Linked DNA regions of Homo sapiens: all the other regions are linked to region 4. The links are contacts of gene promoters, found by promoter capture Hi-C in blood cells and fetal thymus (Javierre and others, 2016). All regions are on one chromosome and are shown on one strand. The core of a region is centred on a gene start or on the middle of the fragment in contact, and the rest is flanking DNA. Distances in the headings are between cores, read along the strand shown. Region 1 overlaps DDHD1-DT (DDHD1 divergent transcript). Region 2 has its middle 3.1 kb from the start of PSMC6. Region 3 has its middle 140 kb from the start of SSTR1. Region 4 holds the start of KLHL28 (kelch like family member 28). Region 5 holds the start of FAM177A1 (family with sequence similarity 177 member A1). Region 6 holds the start of RALGAPA1 (Ral GTPase activating protein catalytic subunit alpha 1). Region 7 holds the start of MBIP (MAP3K12 binding inhibitory protein 1).

Region 1 (3,988 bases), core at 463-2,962, 8.2 Mb after region 4:
TCCTGTCTCTACTAAAAAAAAATACAAAAAATTAGCTGGACGTGGTGGCGGGCACCTGTAGTCCCAGCCACTCGGGAGGCTGAGGCAGGAGAATGGCGTGAACCCGGGAGGCGGAGCTTGTAGTGAGCCGAGATCACGCCACTGCACTCCAGCCTGGGCTACAGAGCGAGACTCCGTCTTGGAAAAAAAAAAAAAGTACTTTCTGCTTTGCATTGAATGAATGTTTCTATTACTTTTAAGTGTGCTTATTTGGTTATTTTGAGAAGATTATCCTCTTGTGGTTCACTGGGGAAATGCCACACTCCTTTTAGGTAGAGTGATCATTTTTGAAGGAAATGTTGATTCTCAACACAACCCAGGTGGCAGAAGAAGGGAATCCTAGATTCTCTGCTGACCTGGTTATCTTGGTCTAGAGCCAGGTGTGTGTAATCTTTTGGCTTTCCTGGGCCACATCGGAAGAAGAAGAATTGTCTTGGGTCACACATAAAATACACTAACACTGATGATAGCTGATGAGCTTAAAAAATCACGAAAAAATCTCGTACTGTTTTAAGAAAGTTTATGAATTTGTGTTGGGCCACATTCAAAGCCATCCTGGGCTGCATATGGCCCATGGGCTGCAGGTTGGGCAAGCTTGGTCTAGACCTTGTTGAGGGGAGATGTCAATCAACATTTGTGGGCTGAGATTGCTTCTGCCCCTTGGAAGTGAGCTTGGGCTATGGCAGACCCATATACTGGGTCCCAGGCTGACAGTGCTCAGAAGATATTTGAGAGCACAATATCTAACTTCATGTGACTGCATGTGTTTATTTCCTTTTTACTCCCTAGCCATCATAGCAAGGCAAAGGTCATGATGTTGTTTTTCTCAACTTTTCTGCTTTAAAAAGTCATGTTTTATCTAATGCCTCCTGTTCCTGCTCTCCTTTTGTTTTCTAGATCATCTTCTCAGGTAATATGATCCTGACCAGAGGGAGATGGGTTGGGGCATCTATTCTAGTCCCCACCTGCCAGAATAGGTGTCAGGTGGCTCCTCACCACTCTACATCATTAGTGTGTACAATGGACACAGCATTATCTGAACTTCCATGGCTCTATGTAAAGCATTCCATTGTATTTTAATAATTACGCAAGACAAGGCCTCTTTCACATAAGGCAAATAAGTGTGATTGATTCAGACTTCTGGCATTACTGGGCCATGCTGCCGCAAGAAACAGGTGCATGTGGAATCAAGCCTGACGGAGTTATTGGTGTGCAGAAAAAAAAAAAGGTAAGCCAGTTGGTTTGTACTACAAAAGACTAAAACAGCTCGTCTGTGTATCCTACCACCTTCCTGTCCCCATTAGGCATATGGCAAGAGCTATCTGGTAACAACGGCCATCTCCTCCCGCGTCTCAAAGATGTTTTCGTGCAATTGTGTGCTGTCTTTCCCTTTTCTTCTTTTCTTAAAGTTTGTCCCTGTTATTCATTTTATTATTTTAGAGATAGGGTCTTGCTGTTGCCCGGGTGAAGTATAGTAGGCCAATCCTAGCTCACTGCAGCCTTGAACTCCTGGCCTCAAGTAATCCTCCTGCTGCAGCCTCCCCAGTAGCTAGTATTACAGGCACAAGCCACCATGTTGTTCATTTTAACCTGTCTTCACGTTTGTAACATTAGGGAATGCTTGATGCCAAGTAATTTATCCTGAGCCAACATCCCACACCTGCACTTGAAATAGCTTCATCCAAAGTGTATGATGGAAGACCCCTATTTAGAATGAAAGAAAGAGGGCAGACATAACCATGCCCCCATCTGCTGTATCTCGTGTTCGATAAGCCATCCACCACAACTTAAATTTTATTTCACTTTTTATTTTTAGGATTACTACTTATCTGGTTTTTAAAGATGAGAGTGTTTTATCTGATGCCCTGACCAAATGAAACAACAACCTAGACTGAAGCAGGGAACATTCGCTGGACATTTCAGGCACTGTGCTAGGCTCTACAGTGAAGCATTCACAGTCTAGTGGTGTCTATAAATAAAACCAAAATGCTAACTTTTAAATTCCTATGAGGAATATAATTGTAATGCCACTATAGCTGCATCACTACCATGGGGTCATTCTCTCCCTACAGACAGATCAATAAACAAAATCAAATTACAATCCAAAGGAAGCAAGGTGGGCAGAAATAACGTAGGGATTCATGATGAATAAAGTCATTAATCCTTCCATTTATTCATTCAACAAATATTTATTGTCTAGTGCTATTGTGTTTTTATTTTTAACTGAAATTACACTTAAAATTTAGAATTATGAAATGCATTTATTTAAAGATTTATAAGAGGCCTATCCACAAAACCATACTTACCAAAACCCTATAAAAATGTTTTCTATTCCTTTTGGAAATAAAGGTCAGTGGTGGTGAAGGTATATATTCAAATGAAAGAAAGTATAAATCAATACAACATTGATGCATACTCTGTGGAGGCAGCCACAAAATCCTCATCAGCTTGTTTATATCAGACAGATTTGGCCATCTTCCTGCCCTTTCATTATAGAAAAGTGAGTTGGGCCATAGCTATTGGCTGCTGTGAGGCCCACATTATGCACCCATTGTAGATGTATTTAATGACTTCTGCGCTCTAGGATTTTTTCCTACCTCCACAGGTAAGTTGAAAGTACATATTTGTTCACAGACTCATATGAGCCTTCAATAAAAAGTAATTGATAATCATAATATGGTGCTGAGCAAGACTTAGAGGCAGCACCTTGCGTATGTGTATTGTCATATATAAGTTAAAAAGGAAAGAAAAGAGAAGCTTTGTTCCAATAAGGATTTATTTCCACTAATGTAACTGTCAGTAATTTGCTGAGCATTTAAAAGACTGAACAGCAGAATTGATTTACTGTTTTTGCAACTGCTGCTTAAAAAAGTATGTTTATCCTTACATCATAAGTCAGCAACTCATTTAAAGTTTCAGCTTGAATAAAATATGATTCTAGGCCGGGTACGGTGGCTCACGCCTGTAATCCCAGCACTTTGGGAGGCCAAGGCGGGTGGATCACAAGGTCAGGAGTTCGAGACCAGCCTGCCCAACATGGTGAAACCCCATCTCTACTAAAAATACAAAATTAACTGGTCGCGGTGGTGCGTGCTTGTAATCCCAGCTGCTCGGGAGACTGAGGCAGGAGAATCACATGAACCCAGGAGGCAGAGGTTGCAGTGAGCCGAGATCATGCTACTGCACTCCAGCCTGGGCAACAAGAGCGAAACTCCATCTCAAAAAAAAAAAAAATATATATATATATATAATAATCATACATATAATAATCATTATATATACATATATATGATTCTAGACTCACAAGCTCCCAAATTCTTTTTGTGGGTCTCCCATTGGGTTACTTGAACCATACTAGATAGCCATTAGGATAATACCATTAATAAATGTAAATGGCATGGTAGAAAAGCAAAATTCTTCAGAAATTTTATCTTCAAGATTCAGCAACATATATTTTAAATATGAGAAATTAGTAACAATGGCCCTGCATTTGTGACTCCTTCACTTCTAAAGTTTAGAACATCAGATTCATACTAATTCTTAATCATCTGTAAGAACTCACAAATAGTCCTTCATTTGATTATTCATATTACTCTGCTTCTGAGGTTAACAATTATAAACTTTGATCACTCATATGACTGTACTTCTCAGGTTAGAAATTATAAACCTCTGGGCCAGGTGGATCATGCCTGTAATCCCAGCACTTTGGGAGGCTGAGGCAGGAGGATCACTGGAGCCTAGAAGTTCGTGACCAGCCTGGGCAACATGACAAAACCTTGTCTCTACCGAAAACAAAACAAAAAACAAAAACAAAAATTTCCCAGGCGTGGTGGTGTGCCTATAGTCCCAGGTGCTCAGGAGGCTGAGGTGGGAGGATTGCTTGAACCCGGGAGGCAAAGGTTGCAGTGAGCCGAGATCATGCCACAGCCTGGGTGAGACTGATATCTCA
Region 2 (3,764 bases), core at 315-2,814, 7.7 Mb after region 4:
GAAAAGTGAGACAATAGGCACCTCTTTTTCAATTTAATCTTTAGTACTTTTTTTAAAAGCTCTCTTTATGGTATTACTTTATTAAAAGCACACCCCAGAAGCCTAGAAACTCTAACTTCTTCATTTATTTTTTTATTTTATTTTTATTATTATTTGAGTTGGAATCTTGCAGTGTCTCCCAGGCTGGAGTATAGTGGCAAGATCTTGGCTCCAGAGACTGCAACCTCTGTCTCCCAGGTTCAAGCAATTATCCTACCTCAGCCTCCTGAGTAGCTGGGATTACAGGCATGTGCCACCACTTCTGGCTAATTTTTTTGTATTTTTAGTAGAGACGGGGTTTCACCATGTTGGTCAGACTGGTCTTGAACTCCTGACCTCAAATGATCCACCTGCCTCGGCCTCCCAAAGTGCTGGGATTACAGGCATGAGCCACCATGCCCGGCCTGAACTCTAACTTCTATTCCTACCTCAACATCTCACTGCTTAGACACAGACACATTAATTTAAGTGCATTTTCTTTCTTTTTTTCTTTTCTTTTCTTTTTTTTTTTTTTTTTTTTGAGATAGAGTTTCACTCTGTCGCCCAGGCTGGAGTGCAGTTGCGCAAACTCGGCTCACTGCAACCTCCACCTCCTGGGTTCACGCCATTCTCCTGCCTCAGCCTCCAGAGTAGCTGGGACTACAGGCGCCCGCTATCACACCCGGCTAATTTTTTTGTATTTTTTAGTAGAGACGGGGTTTCACCACGTTAGCCAGGATGGTCTTGATCTCCTGACCTTGTGATCCACCCGCCTCAGCCTCCCAAAGTGCTAGGATTATAGGTGTGAGCCACTGCGCCTGGCCTAATTTAAGTGCATTTTCATAGGTATTTGGAAGTAGACATTTGGGATGAAAAATTTCTAAAAACTTAAGTGTTGTGGCCAATGTGGGAGCAAAAGTAGTTGCTACTTGCCTATTTGACACTGTTTCCCAATTTTTCTCTTAAAAATAAATCTGTTCTTGTTGTATTTGTTATCGATCACTGTGTAACAAATTACCCCAAAACTAAGTGGCTTCAAACAACAAACATTTATCATCTCATGGTTTTTAGGGACCAGCAATTCAGGAGCAGCTGAACTGAGTTGTGTGACTCAGTCTCTCATGGTGTTGCAATCAATACTAGGGCTGCAGTAATAAAGGCTTGCCTAGAGCCGGAGGATCTCTGCCAGGAACTGCTCACTCATATGGCTGTTGGCAGGAGGCCTTAAGTTCCTGGATGGCTGTTCCTTGCTATGTAGGTCTCTCCATAGATCTGTTGATGTGTCCTCATGCCATGACAACTGGCTCTCCCACAGGGAGTTATCCAAGCGAGAGTCAAAAGGAAGGCTCAACACTTTTTGTGATCTAGTCTCCATCGTTGCGCACTGTCACTTCCACTTTATTTATCAAGAGCAAGTCACTAGGTCCAAGGAAGGGGAATTATGCTCCACCTCTTGAAGTGGAAAGTGTCAAATAATTTGTGTACATATTTTAAAATGACCACACTCATCTGTGCCAAGTTATAGGAAAATAGATTGAGAAACTATCCTTACATGATTTTTGAAGGTCTACATCAATCTCATTACCGTTTGTTATGACATCACTTTTAATGACTCCGAAATAAACTAAGATATGCCCTACCTTCTTTTATCTCTTCCACCCTATATGTTCTAATTTTCATTTTTTGGTCACATTTGTATTTTTCTGTTTTCACTTTATGATATTTTAAGTTCCTTGAGTACTGGTCACATTTCTTAGCCTCTTTATAACTCTGCTTACCTATCTTAGTGCCTGAGATATTCATTCATTCAATATACATATATCTCTTTTATTTCAGACACTGTGCTAGACACTGGGGATCCAATCAGGGGAAATAAATAGTCATAGTCCTTGTTTTCCGAGGGGTTACAGTCCACTGCAGAGAAAAGACTCTAAACATTTAATCACGTTTAAGAATATATAATTACAAGTTGAGCTACGTTTTCAGATGGAGAGGAATACAGTCTTATAGGCATGTATAAAAACGTAACGGCCAGGCGCGGTGGCTCACACCTGTAATCCCAGCACTTTGGGAGGCTAAGGCGGGTGGATCACCTGAGCTCAGGAATTTAAGACCAGCCTGACCAACATGGTGAAACCCCATCTCTACCAAAAATACAAAAATTAGTCGGGTGTGGTGGCGCATACCTGTAGTCCCAGCTACTCTGGAAGCTGAAGCAGGAGAATCCCTTGATCCCGGGAGGCGGAGGTTGCAGCAAGCCGAGATCGCACCACTGCACTCCAGCCTGGGCGACAGAGCGAGACTCCTGCTCAAAACAAAAAACAAACAAACAAACAAAAAAGTAACAGGGCTAGTGTAGGCATGGGGAAAATAGAAGATTCTTCTGAAGTTGAAATGCTGCCAGATGGGTAAAAGAAAAAGAACAAGGGTTAAGGGACTTTAAAATATTGATGTGATTAATGTTAAAATAACCTATCAGTATGTGCTCATAAATATTTTAAATTGAGCCATACTGAGCTTTCTTTCTCTGCCTTGTCCTCTCTTCTTTACTTCTTGATGTCAGAGGTGACATGTTTTGGTATGGATGGACTAGTTTGACCAGAGTAGTTGCAACTGAGTGGGAGAAGGGACTATCCCTGCCCCATACAGCTTCCTTGTTCATTGTATACTGCAAGAACCCAGTCACATTTAGAAAAATTGGCCGAACGCGGTGGCTCATGCCTGTAATCCCAGCACTTTGGGAGGCCGAGGCGGGCGGATCACGAGGTCAGGAGATCGAGACCAGCCTGACCAACATGGTGAAACCCTGTCTCTACTAAAAATACAAAAATTAGCTGGGCGTGGTGGTGTGCGCCTGTAATCCCAGCTGTTCGGGAGGCTGAGGCAGGAGAATCACTTGAACCCGGGAGGTGGAGGTTGCAGTGAGCCGAGATCGCGCCACTGCACTCCAGCCTGGCGACAGAGCAAGACTCCAACTCAAAAAAAAAAAAAAAAAAAAAAAAAAAAAAGAAAAATAGAATGGAATATTCACACAATACCCATGAGAATTGTTCCTAATAAATTTGAAGGCATCCTTTATGTGACTTTGGGTCATTAATTTACAAAAATTTGTACTTTATTTGTATATTTAGGATGTATATATTTAAACTCAAACATTCATGGCCATTGGATAAGGTGAGACCAAATGGAATCTATTTGGAGAATTTTACTCATGTTTTTTGGACAACAATTAATTGTCCCCAGGAACAATGATAGCAAGAGGTATAGCAATGAGGACCTGTAATGCAAAAATTGGAGTCATTACTACCCTTAAAATAAATATCTATTCAAAAGAACACTATTGAGTACATGCCATGTGGCAGATGTTGTGTTTAGGCACATTATCCTATTTAATACTCATGACAACCCCATTAGATAAGTGCAATTATTATGATCATTTTACAGAGATATTGAGGGAGTATGTAATTTTCCCCAAATCACAAAAATCTGAAAGTTGGCCAGGCGTCGTGGCTCACGCCTGTAATCCCAACACTTTGGGAGGCTGAGGCGGGCGGATCACTTGAGGTCAGTAGTTGGAGACCAGCCTGGCCAACATGGTGAAACCCCATTCCTACTGAAAATACAAAAATGAGCCGGGCGTGGTGGCGGGCGCCTGTAATCCCAGCTTCTCAGGAGGGTGAGGCACGACAATCGCTTGAACCCGGGAGGCAGAGGTTGCAGTGAGCCAAGATCGCACCACTACACTG
Region 3 (3,586 bases), core at 224-2,723, 6.9 Mb before region 4:
GAGAGAGATTGTGCAGGGAAACTCCCATATTTAAAACTATCAGATCTCAAGAGACTTATTCACTATGATGAGAACAGCATGGGAAAGATTCCTTCCCATGATTCAATTACCTCCCACCGGGTTCCTCCCATAACATATGGGAATGGTGGGCCTTATAATTCAAGATGAGATTTGGGTGGGAACACAGTCAAATCATATCAGACCCTTTCTACATGGGCAACAACTGTCAAGCAGTTTCATATGTATCTTGTAGGAAAGGTGTATTACCTTTAGTTGCCCATGGATCATTTTGGAGCTTTATGTGAATACATATCTTTTTGAACATACATGAGAGCACAACCCACTCTGTTATTTGGCTTATTGTTTGAATGTAACAATATATCTCAGAGATACTTCCATATTAAGAATGAATTTTTACTGTTTTAACATAATTTTTTAATATTACACTAGTGTAGATACTTTTACATATGTATACATATATACATGTGTATATGTATGTAATTTATATACACATATACACATATAAATGAGACACATATTGTGTCATAAGCACTTTATATGTGTTAAATAAAAATTACAGGAGGTCCTTATTTTGGACTGAGCTCCTGCACTAGACCCCAAGAGATCAGACTAAAAACCAGAATGGAGTCCGTCATGCTGAGGTTCTACTCACCACATGGAAACTGAGTTGTTATGTGTCCTTTCCAGAAATCAGGAGAGAGAGATAACCAAATTTCCCAAATAGGTTAGTTTTAATCTGCATGGCAATGAAATTCCCTCTGCCTTTAATCCTTACAACAAAAAGTAACCTGGGATTACCTGAAGTTAACTAATGGGTCATTTTTCTATTGTTTTATTTCCCTGTTTGCACCTTACAAGGAAAGTAACTTTGAAATAACATGTCTGCTTTTTGTTCTTTGTTTCTGCTTTCTTCAGCTCTCTGTCTATAAAGCCAACTTATTCTACTCAGCTCATTGGAACACATATTATACTTTATAGAATGAATTGTTGCTGGATTCTGGACTTGCAAATAAAGCCAAGTTAAGATCTTTAAGCTAAAGTGTATTTTTTGCCTTTTGACTTATGTGTTCACTCATTTACTCTTAACTATCCAATGAAACATGTACAGTATTTCTTTTGGCACAGCTTTACAGATGAGGAACCTGGGGCAAGAGTGCTGAGGAAGCTTGTTCAGGGTTTCAAAACTAGTAAGTGGTGAAACCACCCAGAAAATAGAGTCTCATGCACTTAACAGTCTAATTATGATTATACTTAGGTTGCTCCCAATGTTTGTTTATGTATATAACTATGCTTTAAAACATTTTTGTACATTGCAGTTGCACTCATGTGAGTATCGATGGGATACATTCCTCAAAATCAAATTTCTGTGTTGGAGGATATCCACATTTTTAGTTTTTATGGTTACTGTCAAATTCCCTTCCAAAGAAGTTGTGATAATGTGTACATTCACTGTCTGTGTGTGATAATTCCTGTTTCCTCACGAACTTGCCAAGGCTGTATACTATCAAACTATTGCCAATTTGGCAGCTAAAAAATACTATCTTTATTTTGCCTTAATTTGCATTTATTTATGAGAAGAATTGGGCATCCTTCCATCTGCTTATAAGCCATATGTGTTTATTTTTCTGTGAAATGCCTATTATATTTCTAAAAGATTTGGGGTATTTTTCTTATTGATTTCTAGAAGTTTTATATATGTGCATATATATAAAACGTATACACATATATAATTTCTACATAAAGCTTTGTGTCATTTTTGTTTTTTGTAGAGATGGGGGTCTCACTTTGTTGTTAGGGCTGATCGTGAACTCCTGGCTTCAAGTGATCCTCCAACCTCAGCCTTCTGAAGTGTTGGGATTATAGGCATGAGCCACTTCTCCTAGCCTGAGAGTTTTATATTTTAAGGAAAATAGTATTTTATCTTTCAATATATTGCAAATATTCTCTCCCCCACTTTTTAAAAAACTTTTGTCCTTGTTTATACTATTTGGTTCTAACAACAGAAAAGTTTTAAATCTTCATAGGAACTAATTTATCGACATATATTTATGGGTTGTGGATTTTATAGTTTTGATTTTAAAAAAGTTCTTTAACTTCAGAATTTTGAAAAATTGGGATATATTCTTTATTACAGTTATGGCTTCATTTTTTTCTTTCAAAATTAATCAGCTGGAATTTATTTTGGTATAAAGAGTGAGGGAATAATTCAGCTATACTTTTAGTTTAAATTGCTAACTGGTTGTCTCATCAAAATGTATTGAAATATCTTTCCTTTCTCCATCATTTGCTTATATGGCCATACTCCCTTATCTGTAGTTTCGCTTTCTGCATTTTCAGTTACCCAAGGTCAATCATGGTTTGATAATATTAAATAGAAATTTCTGGAAATAATGTTTTAGTTGCATGCTGTTCTGAATAGTGTGATAAAATCTCACACTGCCTTGCATTGTCCACACTGGACAAGAATCCTCCCTTTGTCCAGCGTATCCAGGCTGTCTACCTGCCCTTTAGTCACTCAGTGGCCCTCTTGGTTATCAGATTGACTGCAGCAGTATTCAGGTAGGAGATGAACGGGACTTATTTTCCCAGCACCAATCACGAGCCTGATGATCAAAACAGGATGCAGTGAAGAAACCGGTGGAAACCACCACATGGTGACAAAAGTGATCTCTAGTTGCTCTCACTGCTCATTAGCATAAAGACACTCCCACCAGCACCATGACAGTTTACAAATGCCATGACAACAACCCAGCAGTTATTTTATATGGTTTTGGAACTCCCTCACCCATTTTCTAGAAAATTCTGAATAATTCACTCCTTAATTAGTATACAGCTAAGAGTGGGTATAAACATAGCTAGCTACCAATCTACAGGAACTGCTACTCTGCACTGCTACTGTTGCTGTACGCTGATGCTGCTCCTCCTTCTCCTCCTCCTCCTTTTTGGGACTGCTGCTACTGCTCTGGCCTGCTCTGCCTATAGAGCAGCCACTTTGCTGTACACTGCTACTCTGGGCAATTCTGCCTATGGGAGAGCCCCGCTCTGTCTATGGACAGCCATTTTGCTGTACACTGTTGTTGTAATCTTTAATAAACTTGCTTTCTTTCACTGCTGTCTCTTGAATTATTTCCTGAATGAAGCCAAGAACCCTCTGGATTGAGCACCAATTTGGGGGTTTGTCTGCATCAGTGTTGTCATGGGTGATCAGCAACTATTTGAGGCCAGTGGTGTGGCGGTAAGAATAATTTACAAGACAGCTGTAGGTAAAGAAAGGCAGATTTAATAGAGAAAGTATGGAAATATGTTGCAAGAGTGGTTACAGACAGGTTAGCAAGAGAGGAGCTAACTGCAAAGAGACAAAGGCTTCCTGGGAATTTTATAGGATGGTGCTTATGCTGTGTGCTGAGGAGGGCTTTGTGCAGTTCTAATAATGCCAAAATTGCAGTATCCTAACTAACTTTTTTTAAATTTTAGTCAGCTGAGGATCTGGTGATAGCTGGGTACAGGAAGATTGTGTTATTTGCACAGGAGGGCTACATATCCTGGACCAAGAAGAAAGGCAGAC
Region 4 (3,897 bases), core at 192-2,691:
TGACAACTGCTACAATCATTTCTTGTTTTTCACCTCCCTGTCTTTAACCTGTCCCTAAAATGAAACATGCTAGCTAAACCTAATTTAGGCAGATTCATTTAAACACGAAAATGGCTCATTAAAACCAAAGTAACAGCCTAGAATTTAAACCAAAACATAGGATGTATATTTACACAGCCTCATTTACATTATAGTCTATTCCCCACCCCCACCCCCCCAAAAACAAAACAAAACAAAACTGATATTCAAATCGTACTTTAAGGCAAAAATCCAGAAATTATTTTTGCACTTGCATCAGCTGGGAGCATTATTTATAAAGCTGTTTGGCATATGTGACTCATTTATTCCAAGACTTTAAAAAGTATTTAAGAGAAATCCCACCTGGTACAGAGCAGGGTAGGAATACTTGCATTTGAAGTGCATAAATTTGGGTCTTCAAATGATAACTTAGACTTTTCGCACGAGTCATTCAAAAGTAATAGTATTATTCCTTCAAAAAAAAAAAATATCTCTTCCACACTCCAAAGCATTCAGGCTCACACTAGACACTCCAGCTCTTCCACTGTGTCCGTTTAAGTATCACTTATGAGGAGAAAATGCACACAAAATTCTCAGTTCGCCTAAAATAAATAAATGTCTACTATCATTCCTAAATCCACAAGGCAGAATTCTCTTAGAACCATGATGCCAAGAACTTCCACCGCAAGTGAAATTGTCTTCGCAATCTCTGTCTCTAGGAGACTGAAAGGCTGCAGAGACGCTTGAGGATCCTGCAGGGAGGCTAGGGCGGCAGACGGAGGGGGCGGAGGTTAGGGGAGAGTCCCACAGAGGAACTGCATTAGAAGGAAAGATTTTGATAACGTCTAAGGGAGAGGCGGTTAGCTACAGGGGGAAAAAAACAGACCTATTTCCATATTATGTACGTTGTAAAGAAAACGCAAAGTGATGAGGGTAAGGAAACGTTGCCAAAAACAAACAAACAAAAACAAAAAAAAATTAACCCTCTGCGGCCGGAGGGTTAAGAGAAGTCGACAAAAGGAGAAGGGGGAGGCGAATAAAGGCCCCAAAGACCAGGAATTGAAAAAAAATACCCGATTTGTGAGCTTGGCCGTGGTCCAGATCTTCTGTCCTGATAAGCAGATGGCAAGAGGAAAGGATCGCAGTTACTCAGGGTGGTAGAGAGTAACGCGTTTACAAGGGTGACGAGCCCTGCACAAGAAGATGTCGCCTCTCTTTCCACCTGCTCCGCTCAGTCCTTTGCCTCTTACTCTAGCACCAGTGGCATTCGGGCAAAACACTGCCAAAGCCTGCACCGCTGGAGGACAGCAAAAGGAAAATACCTGAGTCTCAGTAATCACACGGGCAGCGACAGGAGGAGGAACCGCGGACAACTGGAGCCTGGGCTGGATCCTCACTAGCTCCGGTCAAACCCTAACTCTTACGGGTGGGGCGGGCAACTTCCGCCCAGAGCAAGGAAAGCGTCACATCCGTCAAATGGCTTCACCCCTCCTCCCTTCTCCGCTGTAGCTGCGTTTACAACGTTCTGACTTCCTCTTCCAGGAGACTTTGGCCTAGTCTCAACACCTGACGTGGACTACATAACCCAGCATTCATCACGGCAAGTGGATTTCCGGGTCAAGAGGTCCGCGCTGGGTACATCACCATGGAAGCAATCGGTTTGGTCACGTGGTGCCCTTGGTTACGCCCGGTGGCAGCTGTGGGGTCTAGGGCTCAGACGGGGGCCATTTTGCCAGAGGCTGCCTCCCGGAGTTGGGGGCGGCCTGGCGGCAGGCTGAAGCTGTTCTTTTGCCTCTTCTGCAGCTTGGGGCTTGGAGAGGATCTGGAAGTCTGGGCTCCATCGAGCCCTTTGGAGACGGCAATGGTTTCTTCCAACCACCACCACCTGACAACCCTGCATGGCGGCTGCCCCCTCCGCGCTGCTTCTGCTGCCGCCCTTTCCAGTCCTCTCTACCTATCGGCTCCAGAGCCGCAGTCGTCCTTCCGCCCCAGAGACCGATGATAGTCGAGTTGGGGGCATTATGAGAGGAGAGAAAAACTACTACTTCCGTGGAGCTGCGGGGGACCACGGTTCCTGCCCCACTACAACTTCGCCTCTGGCCTCGGCCCTCTTGATGCCCTCGGAGGCAGTCTCAAGCAGCTGGTCTGAGTCTGGAGGCGGTTTGTCAGGGGGAGATGAAGAGGACACTCGGCTCCTTCAACTCCTCCGCACTGCCCGGGATCCTTCTGAGGCCTTCCAGGCTTTGCAAGCTGCTTTGCCGCGGCGGGGCGGTCGACTTGGCTTCCCCCGACGCAAGGAAGCTTTGTATCGGGCACTGGGCCGAGTGCTTGTGGAAGGAGGTAGTGATGAGAAGCGGCTCTGCTTGCAACTTCTCTCGGACGTTCTCCGGGGTCAGGGGGAGGCAGGCCAGCTTGAAGAGGCCTTTAGCTTAGCACTTTTGCCTCAACTAGTTGTCTCGTTACGGGAAGAGAATCCAGCCCTGCGGAAAGATGCGCTGCAGATCCTTCATATATGTCTGAAACGTAGTCCTGGAGAGGTGCTGAGAACGCTTATACAACAAGGACTGGAAAGTACCGATGCCCGACTTAGAGCTTCCACAGCACTACTGCTTCCCATCTTGCTTACTACTGAGGACTTGTTGCTTGGTCTGGATCTCACCGAGGTGATAATATCCCTAGCCCGAAAGCTTGGTGATCAGGAGACAGAAGAAGAATCTGAGACAGCTTTCTCCGCACTTCAACAAATTGGGGAGCGACTTGGCCAAGACAGGTTTCAATCTTACATTTCTCGTCTGCCCTCTGCCCTGAGGAGACACTACAATCGCCGCCTGGAGTCCCAGTTTGGAAGTCAGGTTCCTTATTATTTGGAACTTGAAGCCTCTGGATTTCCTGAAGATCCCCTTCCCTGTGCAGTGACTCTTTCCAACAGCAATCTTAAATTTGGGATTATTCCTCAGGAGCTGCATTCACGATTATTGGATCAGGAAGACTATAAGAACCGGACCCAGGCCGTCGAAGAACTAAAGCAGGTGCTGGGAAAATTTAACCCTAGTTCTACTCCTCATTCTAGTCTTGTTGGCTTCATTAGTTTGCTATATAATTTGTTAGACGATTCTAACTTCAAAGTGGTGCATGGCACACTTGAAGTCCTGCATTTACTGGTTATTCGCCTTGGAGAGCAGGTACAGCAGTTCTTGGGACCAGTTATAGCAGCTTCTGTCAAAGTGCTGGCGGACAACAAGTTGGTGATCAAACAAGAATACATGAAAATCTTCCTCAAGCTAATGAAGGAAGTAGGACCTCAGCAGGTGCTTTGTTTACTCCTGGAACATCTCAAACATAAGCATTCCAGAGTGAGAGAGGAGGTGGTGAACATTTGCATCTGCTCCCTGCTGACCTATCCTAGTGAGGATTTTGACTTGCCCAAACTGTCCTTTGATCTTGCCCCAGCTCTTGTAGATAGCAAACGCAGGGTACGCCAAGCAGCTTTAGAAGCTTTTGCCGTATTGGCATCATCAATGGGCTCAGGTAAAACCAGCATCCTTTTTAAAGCTGTGGATACAGTTGAACTGCAAGATAATGGAGATGGAGTGATGAATGCTGTGCAGGCCAGATTGGCTAGGAAAACCTTACCAAGGCTCACAGAGCAGGGATTTGTGGAATATGCAGTACTGATGCCATCTTCTGCCGGGGGTAGGTCAAACCATTTGGCACATGGAGCAGATACGGACTGGCTTTTGGCTGGTAACAGAACTCAGAGTGCACACTGTCACTGTGGTGACCACGTGAGGGATAGCATGCACATTTATGGATCTTACAGCCCAACTATCTGTACCCGAAGGGTATTAAGTGCAGGAAAAGGAAAAAATAAATTACCAT
Region 5 (3,814 bases), core at 1,315-3,814, 9.9 Mb before region 4:
TGGGACTACAGGCGCCCGCCACCACGCCCGGCTAATTTTTTGTATTTTATAGTAGAGACGGGGTTTCACCGTGTTAGCCAGGATGGTCTCGATCTCCTGACCTCGTGATCCACCCGCCTCCGCCTCCCAAAGTGCTGGGATTACAGGCGTGAGCCACCGTGCCCAGCCCGAGTTGTTGATTTGTAATAAACTGCTCTTCAATTGGATATTTGTGTTAAAAATAACTTTTTAGGAAATACTTCCAGTTCACGTTAGAATGTAACTTGTACTTTGAATTTTCAGTAAACTAAGAAATACACATGTAAACTGTGAAAATATATTCTGCTTCGGCAATGAAAATTGTAATTTGAGGCCAGGCGTGGTGGCTCACGCCTGTAATCCCAGCACTTTGGGAGGCTGAGGTGGGTGGATCATCTGAGGTCGGAAGTTCGATACTAGCCTGGCCAACATGGTGAAACCCCGTCTCTACTAACAATACAAAAATTAGCCGGGCGTGGTAGTGCACAACTGTAATCCCAGCTACTTGGCAGGCTGAGGTGGGGGAATCGCTTGAACCCGGGAGGCGGATGTTGCAGTGCGCCAAGATTGCGCCATTGCACTCCAGCGTGGGTGAGACCCCATCTCAAAAAAAAAAAAAAAGAAAAAAAAGAAAAAGAAAATTGTAATTTGATATTTAATTGCCACTTTGGAAAATAAAATCATGCATTTATAAATATCCCACAAAGTTTTAGTAATAAAGATTGTTGATTGCCCTGCTTGCCAGTAAGAAGGAAGAGATTTTGAATACATATAATGCAGAACTGTGTTGTTTATGAATGCCAATTCATGAAGTCTTAACAATTGGTTCTTTATTTTTGTTTTCAATTTATGGCCGAGTTTGGTTTTGCTGTTTTGGACTGTCTCAACTCCCTGCTGATGCCACCATACAGAGTCAGATCAGGTACTAACTTGTTTACTTCAGCAGCAACCTAACTTGATTTTATTACCAGGATAGAGAGCAATATGGATTTCCAACTAGTTTTTAAGGCGTAGATGGTTTTCAAATGATTATTTGTTTTTTAAAGTTTTTGGTTTTGTTTTTAGGTTCCAGTTATACATAGAATAGGAAGTGTACAATAACATTAGGCAGAGGGTAAGGAGAAGAACTTTGGCACAGAAGAGAAAGGAATATTTAATATTTGGGCCTGCTGTTGCTATGATGAAAAACATTTACAAGGTCATACAACTTTAGGGAGCATTTCTGAATTGAGACTAGTATGAAAATGGAATTTAAAGTATCAAATGAAGCCTCCCATAGCCAAAATAATGTATGTTTTGGTTTTGCCCCCTACATATTTGTGAAAACTTTCATGCTAAAACAACAATATACCATTTACCTGCAGAACCTCAGACTTGTTTGATGTTGAAGTCATGCAGTAATTGCATGATTTTTTACTTTCGTTGAACATTGCGAAAGACGGAAAAAATCTGGGACGCCCCCTCTAACATACGCACACGACTTTAAGACACAGATAAAACATTCCTTACATTTGTCAAGATGGAAGCTTACTACTGCCCTTTGCTCTCCTTCAGGTCTTTTCACTTAACACTTTCTACAGTTATACTTAAGTATTTCAGACAAGAGTAAGCAAATATCACGCCTGGGGTTCTTCTTTCGAGGGTATTTTGGCTGGACTGTCACCCACGTTTGGAATGGAAAGTGCAGCACGAGCCGTACATTTTACATTTTTCAGCAACCACATCCCATCACTAGCCTTTGAAGTACAACGACACAGCTGTCTTCATTTTACAAGTGCAAAAACCGAGGTCCTGCGGGGTGACTGCCCCAGACGCCGCTGGTGACGGGCTGCGCCGAGGTCGAGACGCCAGGCTTCAGGTACACGTACCAGAAATGACGTCACAGGCGGTGCCAGGCGGGGATCCACGAGCTCTGGATGCTTGCTTGGCCGGAAGCGACGCCCCGCAAGGACCCGCCCCGCCCCGCCCCGCCCCGCGCGAGCCGGTAGTTGCGCCTCCCAGACTGCAGTTGGCCAGCTCTCGGGGTGCGGAGCCCGGCGGGCTAGGCGAGGCGCGGGCTGGCCCCGCCCCTCAGGCCGGCGAGTCCCCTTCTCAGAGACTTGGCTAGGCGCGGCGCGAGGCGGGCGCTGGGCGGGTGAGTCCCACTTCCCGACAGCCTGGCTCGGCCAGCGACTGGGCGGGGAGACCAAGGATGGAAGTGGGCTTACCGGCCATTACCCTCTTTCTCACCAGCGCCAGCAGCCCTGTGGTGGCGACGACGATGGACCAGGAGCCAGTGGGCGGTGTGGAACGAGGAGAAGCCGTCGCAGCCTCGGGAGCTGCGGCCGCCGCGGCATTCGGGGAATCTGCAGGGCAGGTAGGTGGGGCCGCCGAGGCTGACGTCCGGGGAGCCGAGCCGCCTCCTTGCCTTCTCCGCGGGCCGCTCTTTTAGCCTGCGCGGCCGTCCTCCGAGCAGGCCGCCCCAGCTTTGGAGTTCCTCCTCACTGCACCCCTGTTTCTGCTCACTGAGACCAGCTTGTGGGAAGGAGCGCCCCCCGCCTCACTCACCAACCCCTTGGCTGGCAGCACAGCAGACTCTGGGGCGGCCTCGGGTTCCTGGGGTGATAGTCCAGCTTCTGGTCTACCAGAGGAAGAAGAAAGGCGTGTCCCCCAAAGGCTGTCCTTGCAGTAGCTGGAAGCCAGGTGAGGGCGGCTTCAACCACTTCTCAGTCTCTTCTGGTGCGAGCGCCTGCCTGGGCATCTGCCCTTTGCTTGGCATATGCCAAACGTTTACCAGCTTTAATTCACTGGATCCTTACAGTAACCGCTCGAGGTGGGTGTTAGCCCCATTTCACCGCCGAGGCAACTAAGGCTCCGAGCTGCGCTGTCCAACATAAATAGAATGCAAGCTGCATTGAAAATTGTAATTTAAAATTTTCCAGTAGGCACGTTTTAAAAAAGTGAAACCGATATTAATTTTAATAGCATATCTTATTTAACCTAATTTATCAAAACAATTTCAACCTAAAATTACTATGAAAGTTATTAATGAAGTATTTGCATTCTCTTTTGGAGTCTTTTCTAAGTCTTTTAAATCCTGGGTGCATTTTACACGCATAGCATATCGCAGTTCTGGCTGACCACATTTCAAGTGCGCATTAGCCACATGTGGCTAGTGGTTACTGTATTGGACAGCGCTGGTTTAGAGAGTTAACGTTTCTTGCAACTTTTCAGTATTAGACAAAAAGACACTTTGGGAGGCCAAGGCGGGTGGATCACCTGAGGTCAGGAGTTCAAGACCAGTCTGGCCAACATGGTGAAACCCCTTCTCTACTAAAAATACAAAAATTAGCTGGGCGTGGTGGCGCTCGCCTGTAGTCCCAGCTACTCGGGAGGCTGAGGCAGGAGAATTGCTTGAACCCTGGAGGTGGAGGTTGCAGTGAGCCGAGATCACGCCACTGCACTCCAGGCTGGAGACAGAGCGAGACTCCGTCTCAAAACAGCAACAACAACAACAACAACAACAACAACAAAAAAAAAACCCTTGAGTTGCTCATGTATGTAACTCTTCCCATCCTCCATGAGAATGAAGCTTTTTCAGTAGCTTCATTTTTGAGACTAAGTACCTGAATGTTAGTAAGACATTTCCCCCAAACTGTGAGTATATCTCTGTGTATCTCTTATAGTATAAGATGTCGTTTGCATTAACAAAAGCTTATCCAGCCTGGGCAACAGAGCAAGAACCCATCTCTTAAATAAAAAACTAAAGAAACCCCAAAAACAAAAAACACAACTTTCCCACATACCAAACTCTATA
Region 6 (3,669 bases), core at 614-3,113, 9.2 Mb before region 4:
CTGGAATAAATACAATTTACTTGTGACAAAGATTAGCTGTCATAAATGTAGAAAGAGTAAAAAAACAAACTAGAGACACAAAATCTGGGTTCCAATTCTGACTCAGCCTCCTGGTAGCTGGCTGACTACTCGATGTTCCCAAACTTCAGCTTTTTTGTTGGTAAAAAATGGAGAATAATATCATCTACCTATAGAGTTATTGCAAGGATTATCATAATTTACGTGAAATCACTGTAAACAGTAAAGCATCATAGAAATGTTGGGTAATATTGGTGGTATCCTGGTGGTATGAGTAAACAATAGACTAGAGAAACATGTACCTCAAATAAGGGACTTACTTTTTTCACTAAATAAACATCACTTTCCAAAACAAATACGCATCAGGAGGACAGCTCGAGATAAACTCTGAACTAGGATTCAGGCATCTGGATGAATGCATCTTCTTCAGCCAGTTCCACCATTAACTCTAAGTATCAACACAGGCGAAATAATTTTCCTTTTCATCTCAAATGTCTTCATCTAAAAAATCCAACTACTGGACCAGATGTTCCATAAGTATTATTACAGCCTTTATCAGCCTACCAAATGACTAAGTATTCAAAAGAGTCGATTAACATTATATTCAAAACTTAGAGCACTGTTTGGTCTACCAGCAAAACAGAACTTAAGGGCAGACGATAAAAAAAATATTTTTAATTAAAAATAGAATTATATACAATTCTCGAGAAGCAAAGGATGAGTTAAACTACCTATAATAGTTCTCCCTCTAAATGACTAGTGATGAACAAGGTGCATTAACAAAAGGGCGGGGCTCCTTCCCACAGCTTTTTGGGAACCGCCCACTTCCCAAAGAGGTGTAACTGCTACCTCCTTGTCTTCATCTGCCAAGAAACTTGAAAGATTAAGGTTTATATTGTCTGAGAGAGGATTTTATTTTTCTTTTTACTTGGGTGGGGTTGGCAGTAGTCATCTGGCAAACATATCCTATAAACACCATTATCCACAACGCCAGGTCTCCCCACAAAGTCTTAAAGATCTAAGTTTTTAGAGTAATACCAATTTTAAAAAATAAGTTCAGACTATTAACTCAAAATTAGATTACTGTGTTAACAGTAATCAGTGCTGCCAACTGCCAAGTTTTCGCTTCTCCGAATTATTCACCCTCCCGCGTCTCCGCAGAGGCTACGATTTGCCCTCTCCTGCACCGCGCCAGGTCCCGAGAGAGAGTCCGCAGGGGCTCCCAGGAGAGGGAAGGCCGGGCAACCCAGGCCTCGGCGCTGCCACCCCTCGCTCCTCACCGATGACGATGCGCAGGTGCTTGAGGCGAGTCAGTGCGTCCTTCTTGGTGTCTAGCACCTTCTGGGTGGACTTCTTCACGTCCCCGTGCGGCTTCTTGGAGAACATCCTGTCGCTGCCACTGCCACTGCCACTGCCACAGCCGGCTCCCAGCCGGGTCCCGGCGGCAGAAAGTGGAGGGAGTGGACGGGGAGGAGACTAGCCAGAGAGGCTCATTAGCTCCCCAGCCTTGCGGGCCAGGGCAGAGCCGACTCCTTCCCGATCCAGGCCAGGGCCGCCACCTCCACCCGCCTCGCGCCGCGGCTCCAAGGCACCTTCGGCCCCAGCTCCAATATGGCGGATCCCTCTCCCGGCCCTGCACGGAGCGAGGCAGACCCGGGCTGGCCGCCTGCCGCCGCCGCTCGTCTCCAGCGGCCGCCGCTCGCCGCCACAGGCCGGGGCCCCGGACCCAGAGCCACGAAGGTGGAGCTCTCGGCGGCAGGAGCACAACTCTCTCCCTGAGGCCCCCTTAAGGTTGAAGCTTCTTTAGCAGCTTACACCCTGCAGAGGCCGAAACGGAGACGAGTGTGGTAGTGATGGGGTTTCACGACTCTGCCGTCGGTGGCGAACGGTGTCCGTGGCAACCGCCTTCTGACGTCAAGAGTTCTTGACGTCATGCCAGCATGAGATCACCCGTGGCACTCCCCGCCTTGGTTTCCTGTGTAAGCAGCCAAAGGAGAATCTCAAGAAAGGCAAGGAAGGTAGTTACTGCGTGCTCCATTGTAAGCCAAATGATAGTAATAAGCAAAGAGAAGTAATCTTTATTAAATATGTCCATGATTTATCTTTGAAAATGTGCATAAGTTGTTGTGGCCACCAGATCCTCTAGCAGAAAGATAAACGAAGTTACAGTTGGGCAATTTATTCTGTCCTAAATCTATTACTAATAATATTTCCTGCACTATGTATGTGATTTCTTTCATATTTTTTCTATTTGCAATATCCCTGTTTTTTGCTGCAAACAACTTGACAACAGAAAGGCTTAAGCAGAGGTATCTAGGTTTTTTAAATAAAAGTAATCTTGCTTTCCTTTTCTATTGTGCTTTTAAAAATCTTTTCCCCATCTGCACCCCACATAAAGATGAATATATTGTCAGTTTTTCCTCTGCAAAGAAGAATTCAAGGTTCTTATTACATTGATGGAGTCATCTGAAGAATCTGCAATAGCTGAAAAAAATCCGTGAAATTCTGAATGACATAAATTGAAATTTTTATTGGAACCCTTTTTTTTTTTTTCCTTTTTCCTTTTCTTTCCAGACAGGGTCTCTGTGTCCCAGGCAGAAGTGCAGTGGTGTGATCTCAGCTCACTGAAGCCTCGAACTCCCAGGCTCAGGTGATGCTCCCACCTCAGCCTACCGAGTAGCTGGGACCACAGGTGCGCGCCACCACATCCAGCTAATTTTTGTGTTTTTTGTAGAGACGGGGTTTCGCCATTTTGCCCAAACTGGTCTAAAACTCCTAGACTCAAGTGATCCGCCCGCCTCAGCCTACCAAACTGCTGGGATTACAGGCGTGAGGCCACTGCGCCTGGCCAGGAACATTTCCTCCACAAAATAATTTGATAAAGAGTGAGTTTGCTTGTTTGAACTGTTTCCTTCTATGTTCTCACCCATAGCAATAGACTTGTCCAATGAAATATGTGATTAACATAGAAAAATAACAAAATCAGCAAAGAAGAGAGATGTAAGACATTTGCCAAAATTATGTTAAAATATAGTGCTTTGCTTAATGGTAGTTTGTTTCAACAACAATCCTATATTTTTTAAAGTACAAAAAATTTATTCAGTTTCTACATGTAGGGTTTGTTTGTATCATCAAACTTACAAGCCATACATGTTTTGAGGAAGCTTATAACATAATAGAAAAATAAGGGGATTGTTCAAGAGATTTTAGTTCTAGTTCCTCTCAGCATCAGTTTTCTTATTAATAAAATCAAAATAAGGTCTGTCCCTCACAGTTTCGTGAAATTTAGGCAATAATACAATGTTTTCAAGCATGATCTTTAGAATTACATAGACCTAAATTAGACATTCTGTTTTTCACTTGCAAGGACTTACTTGCTCTCGGGCCCTTGGCATGTAGTTCAGTCTCAGCCTGATTTTCCTCATTTGTAAACTACATCAGTGATTGTGATAATTAGGTGAGAAAAGTATTGAAAGTTACATCTATAATGACACATCTCATAACATTCCTTTCCTTCATAGAATTTAAATACAGTAATTTGTGTAACTGTTTACAGATTCTCTCTTTCATGAGACTGTAAACTCCCTGAGGACAGAGACTGTATAGATTGTCTAAAGTTGTATCCCAGTCTTCTTGCAAAGTGCTCTTTGC
Region 7 (3,735 bases), core at 201-2,700, 8.6 Mb before region 4:
ACATTTCTGCAAAAGCGATTTATCAGCCAGTTAAACTAGTTAATAGTTAAATAACGACAGTTCTAACGCCAACAGCATTTTACGCTAGAAGTATTTTAAATGAATTCCTTTTACTTTTCTCCCCATTTGAAAGGATTATAGATGCGCAAAACAGCCCGAAGGAAAAAAGAAATAAACAAAACCAAGTAACTCATAAGAACAAATTACTCCCTCCCCCACCAAAAAAAGCTAATAAGCGCGCGCTTTTCTATAAATCTCAGGCCTACTGACCAACCAATTCCCATAAAGAGTAAGTTGGAGGAAAAAGGACCCTGAACGCTAAGCGCCTCCTAAACTCGCAGTGAAGCTTTTCCACATTCATTCTCTCCAAGCCTGCCTCTCTCGGAGCCGGGTTTTCACTTAGGCCAACCTCACCCACTCTTGGGGAGGACAGCTGCAAGGTAAACGACTCTGCAACCGGTACCGCCGTCCTCCTCACTCCGACCGAGGAGGCTGGGCCCGGGCTCCTTCCACACCTCGGCTTCGGGACCGCATCCCACACCTCTGCAGGCCTAGCTGCCCCCGGCCTCTGCTAGAGAAAAAGAATGGCGAGGAGGGACCGGATGGTTTCCATATTCCCAGTCCCTCAGGCCACCTCTCACCTGTCCAACCAGGGTGTGTAGGGAGCGAAAGATTTCGTAGAGCACCTCTCGGGAGAGGTTGGGTCTGCATCTTCGCTCCAGGTTCCTGTCACCGCTGCTCGGGCGATTAAGCTCCGTGGCAGCAGCCATGATATCTTCTCAGGCCGCCCCACCACCACCACCACCAAGATTTGCTCACAACCCCGCCCCCTCCCTTCCAGCTTTAGTCGCTTGGCGATGACGTAAGACACGGAGTCTGGTTTAGATCGGGCTTTGAGGCCCCACCCTCTCTATGTGAATGACAAGCACGTTACACCAATCAGTTGCAGCTGTGACATTGCGCCGAGGCTCTGAAGTGGGTAATTGCAGACCACAGCTAGGCTGGAATGCTGTGTTTGGGGTGGTCATTAGAGTCGTGGTCTCTTTAGCGTTATGAAGCCTACCTTGACTCCTAGGTGTTCATTGTGAATCTTGGTAAGAGGAGACATAGTTAAATTTTGTAGTTTGAGTCCAAAAAGTAAAAGTTGACATTTTAACATGGCGGTGTGGAGTGGGTCTGGAGGAAGCTTGCTGGTCAGGGATGGAGTGGTGCCCACACGTGTTTCTAAACATTGGAAAACTCACACGGAATTATCATGATTGGATAGAACATTTTCATCTCTTCAAGTTTGTTGTTGTTGTTTTGGAGACAGAGTCTCACTCTGTCGCCCAGACTGGAGTGCAGTGGCACTACCTCGGCTCACTGCAACCTCCGCCTCCCAGGTTCAAGCGGTTCTCCTGCCTCAGCCTCCTGAGTAACTGGGACTACAGTTGATATTCTCTGTTTTAACTGTAGAGACGCTTAACCCTAAAATTGTTTCAAAGAAATGAAACACTGTCAATATAATTCCAACAGGAATTTAACCTGGATAAATAATATCATGCAACCACAATCTTTGAAATTAGGACATAAAACCGAATTCAAATTTTACAAAGTATTATTTATCATAATAGCTTTATTATAACGATGTTTGTGGGGTTTTGTAATCTTTTAGTCAGACTCCGATATTTTTAAAAAGTGTTATCCAATTAAAGTATTACAATAATTTTTAGTGTTAAGCTTTATTCAAAAACACTTTAAGAAATCAACATCAGCTTAGAGATAAGGAAGGTGGGATTTAAAACTCGTAATTCTGTTAATAGTCTAATGCATTTACAGTAGAGAAAGCAAAGGTGGAAACTTGCACAATGTGTATTCTTTAGTTTTAGGGTAGACTAAATTAAAGGGAAGGACTAATGCATCAAGGAACTAAGATAAGGACGATGGGGATAAAAACTCCTTTGACCTGTCCCTAGGGAGTCTCTTAATTAGGCTTTCATTTCCAAAGACAAATGGGATCACCAGGCTTGACAGAATCTTGGGAAATCTTTTCTGTTCCCTTGTTGGCAGCAAGATATACAACTGACATTCCAGCCTATTTCTACAGGCAGAAAAATACTTCACAATGTCCAGTCTCAAATTGAGCAACCTTCTTATTCAAGCATGGTAATGGGGTAACTGTAAGTTTTTGTTTTGTACCAAATTAGCAATCAGTTTCAGATCATTTGTTTTCATTGAGGTGTTTCATATTTTTTCAAATATGGAGAACACTGATATGCAACACATTTGGGAATATGCTTTGTATATTTAAAAAATGTTGTCTTTAACAAGGTGCTGCTATTCCTTTCTTTGCCATCATTGATTTTGAATTTTCAAGTTTTACTTGTTCTTTTGAGCCTCTAATACAGAATTAACTGATGGCCATTTGATCTGTGTATTGCTTCTCCATGTAATTCTGTGATTTGATATCCAGACCTGCACTTGTATCTTAGTATTCTTTACTTAGGTACAGGTTGAGCATTCCTAATCTGAAAATTCAAAATCCAAAATGATCCAAAATTTGAAACTTTTTGAGTGCCAGTACCACAAGTGGAAAATTTCACACCTGATCCGACATAACAGGTCACAGTTAAAATGTAGTCAAAACTTTGTTTCATGCACAGAATTATTTAAAACATTATATAAAATTACCTTCAAGTTATGTGTATAAAGTATACATGAAACATAAATGAATTTTGTGTTTAGATTTGGGTCCCATCCCCAAGATAGCTTATTATATATATGCAAATATTCCAAAATCTAAAAAAAATCCGAAATCTGAGACACTTCTGGTCCCAAGTAGTTCAGATAAGGGATACTCAACCAGTAGTACTTAAAATTTGTTAACTCTTTTGTGCATTCTTTCTTCTTTCTAAGGACCTTTCTTACTCTTCTTGATGCCTATTACCTTCATTTTGGAAATTTTTCTCATTTTCTTATTTTATAATAGAAAATTCTATTTTAAATAGAAGAGTTTGTAGCCTGAAAAGATTTGGATTCCTTTGGGCCAACTCAAAATAGAAATTTGTAGATATTGTATGTGTGTATGTATGTATAACAAAAGTATAATATGCGCTATGAAATTTAGAAAGGGAATAAAGGGAATAATTTGCTCTTTATGGAAAACTAATTACAGTTTATAAAGTGGGTTGCTGAAAAATCTGCTGCCTGGCAGAAATGATTCAAAGTGTTGGTGTTCGCGTTAGCAACAGAGTTAGAAATACTGTCCAGCAGGCTTATGCCAAGAATCAATTGGGAGGATAGAGACTATAAATGAAATCTAGGCTATTTACCTTATCAACAAAAATGTCTTTTATGGTGAGCTTTAATGGCATAACTCTATTGAATAACCCAGTTCCCAGCAAAATACCTGAGGTATTAGAAGGGCTCAACTGATGTTTGTTGCATATATGATAATACAGATTTTATTTCAATGCAGAAAAAGTAAAATAAATGGTATTTGTCGTCCCTGTCTCCCCATCACCTGCTGCATAAGTCCAAGTTCTTTAGAATGACATGAAGGCTCTTATGATGTGGCCTTTGCCTAAATTTCCAGCCTCATTTTCTGCCACAAACCATCTGGTGCTTAGTGCTTCTGAAACTGCTTTTATGTCTTCAACACTTTACTATTTCTTGCCTCCATGCTTTGATTTTTACCCAGTGCCTGTTGTCTGCTTGAGAAACTCCTTTTCCATTTTCAAACTCCAGTTAGAAAAT

What was found. Contacts are between HindIII fragments. The CHiCAGO score rates a contact against its expected background, and 5 or more counts as called.
Region 1: a contact is called between a fragment that was not itself captured here and the fragment with the promoter of KLHL28 in region 4, in 1 of 17 cell types (non-activated CD4 T cells). The highest score is 5.8, in non-activated CD4 T cells.
Region 2: a contact is called between a fragment that was not itself captured here and the fragment with the promoter of KLHL28 in region 4, in 1 of 17 cell types (fetal thymus). The highest score is 5.6, in fetal thymus.
Region 3: a contact is called between a fragment that was not itself captured here and the fragment with the promoter of KLHL28 in region 4, in 1 of 17 cell types (naive CD8 T cells). The highest score is 6.7, in naive CD8 T cells.
Region 5: a contact is called between a fragment that was not itself captured here and the fragment with the promoter of KLHL28 in region 4, in 1 of 17 cell types (total B cells). The highest score is 5.9, in total B cells.
Region 6: the fragment with the promoter of RALGAPA1 here is called in contact with the fragment with the promoter of KLHL28 in region 4 in 5 of 17 cell types (naive B cells, total CD8 T cells, non-activated CD4 T cells and 2 more); the score reaches 17.8 in naive B cells.
Region 7: a contact is called between a fragment that was not itself captured here and the fragment with the promoter of KLHL28 in region 4, in 2 of 17 cell types (non-activated CD4 T cells and total CD8 T cells). The highest score is 5.8, in non-activated CD4 T cells.

What each region holds. Positions count from the first base shown.
Region 1 is chr14:53,155,307-53,159,294 of GRCh38, forward strand. DDHD1-DT (DDHD1 divergent transcript) reads left to right here. Exons shown (of 3, transcript NR_110062.1): 2 at 937-1,267; 3 at 1,856-2,222. Among named protein-coding and RNA genes, the nearest start is that of DDHD1-DT, 3.9 kb to the left of the region's middle. The HindIII fragment of the contact is 2,163 bases long and covers 632-2,794 here.
Region 2 is chr14:52,702,239-52,706,002 of GRCh38, forward strand. No RefSeq gene overlaps it. Among named protein-coding and RNA genes, the nearest start is that of PSMC6, 3.1 kb to the right of the region's middle. The HindIII fragment of the contact is 5,392 bases long and covers 1-3,764 here.
Region 3 is chr14:38,062,613-38,066,198 of GRCh38, forward strand. No RefSeq gene overlaps it. Among named protein-coding and RNA genes, the nearest start is that of SSTR1, 140 kb to the right of the region's middle. The HindIII fragment of the contact is 578 bases long and covers 1,185-1,762 here.
Region 4 is chr14:44,960,506-44,964,402 of GRCh38, forward strand. KLHL28 (kelch like family member 28) reads right to left here and starts at 1,442. Exons shown (of 5, transcript NM_017658.5): 1 at 1,341-1,442. TOGARAM1 (TOG array regulator of axonemal microtubules 1) reads left to right here and starts at 1,685. Exons shown (of 20, transcript NM_001308120.2): 1 at 1,685-3,897. The coding sequence starts at 1,917. RefSeq lists enhancers at 509-598, 1,113-1,627, 1,169-1,978, 1,628-2,142. The HindIII fragment of the contact is 5,188 bases long and covers 1-2,317 here.
Region 5 is chr14:35,044,255-35,048,068 of GRCh38, forward strand. It overlaps FAM177A1 (family with sequence similarity 177 member A1), which reads left to right and starts at 2,018. Exons shown (of 5, transcript NM_173607.5): 1 at 2,018-2,374. The coding sequence starts at 2,210. RefSeq lists enhancers at 1,538-1,737, 2,458-2,727, 2,828-2,887 and a silencer at 1,858-2,207. The HindIII fragment of the contact is 2,045 bases long and covers 1,543-3,587 here.
Region 6 is chr14:35,807,432-35,811,100 of GRCh38, forward strand. RALGAPA1 (Ral GTPase activating protein catalytic subunit alpha 1) reads right to left here and starts at 1,864. Exons shown (of 42, transcript NM_001346249.2): 1 at 1,299-1,864. The coding sequence starts at 1,404. RefSeq lists enhancers at 1,514-2,074, 1,911-2,010 and a silencer at 1,591-1,830. The HindIII fragment of the contact is 1,366 bases long and covers 1,815-3,180 here.
Region 7 is chr14:36,319,819-36,323,553 of GRCh38, forward strand. It overlaps MBIP (MAP3K12 binding inhibitory protein 1), which reads right to left and starts at 819. Exons shown (of 9, transcript NM_016586.3): 1 at 642-819. The coding sequence starts at 770. RefSeq lists enhancers at 508-767, 1,168-1,217. The HindIII fragment of the contact is 533 bases long and covers 1,185-1,717 here.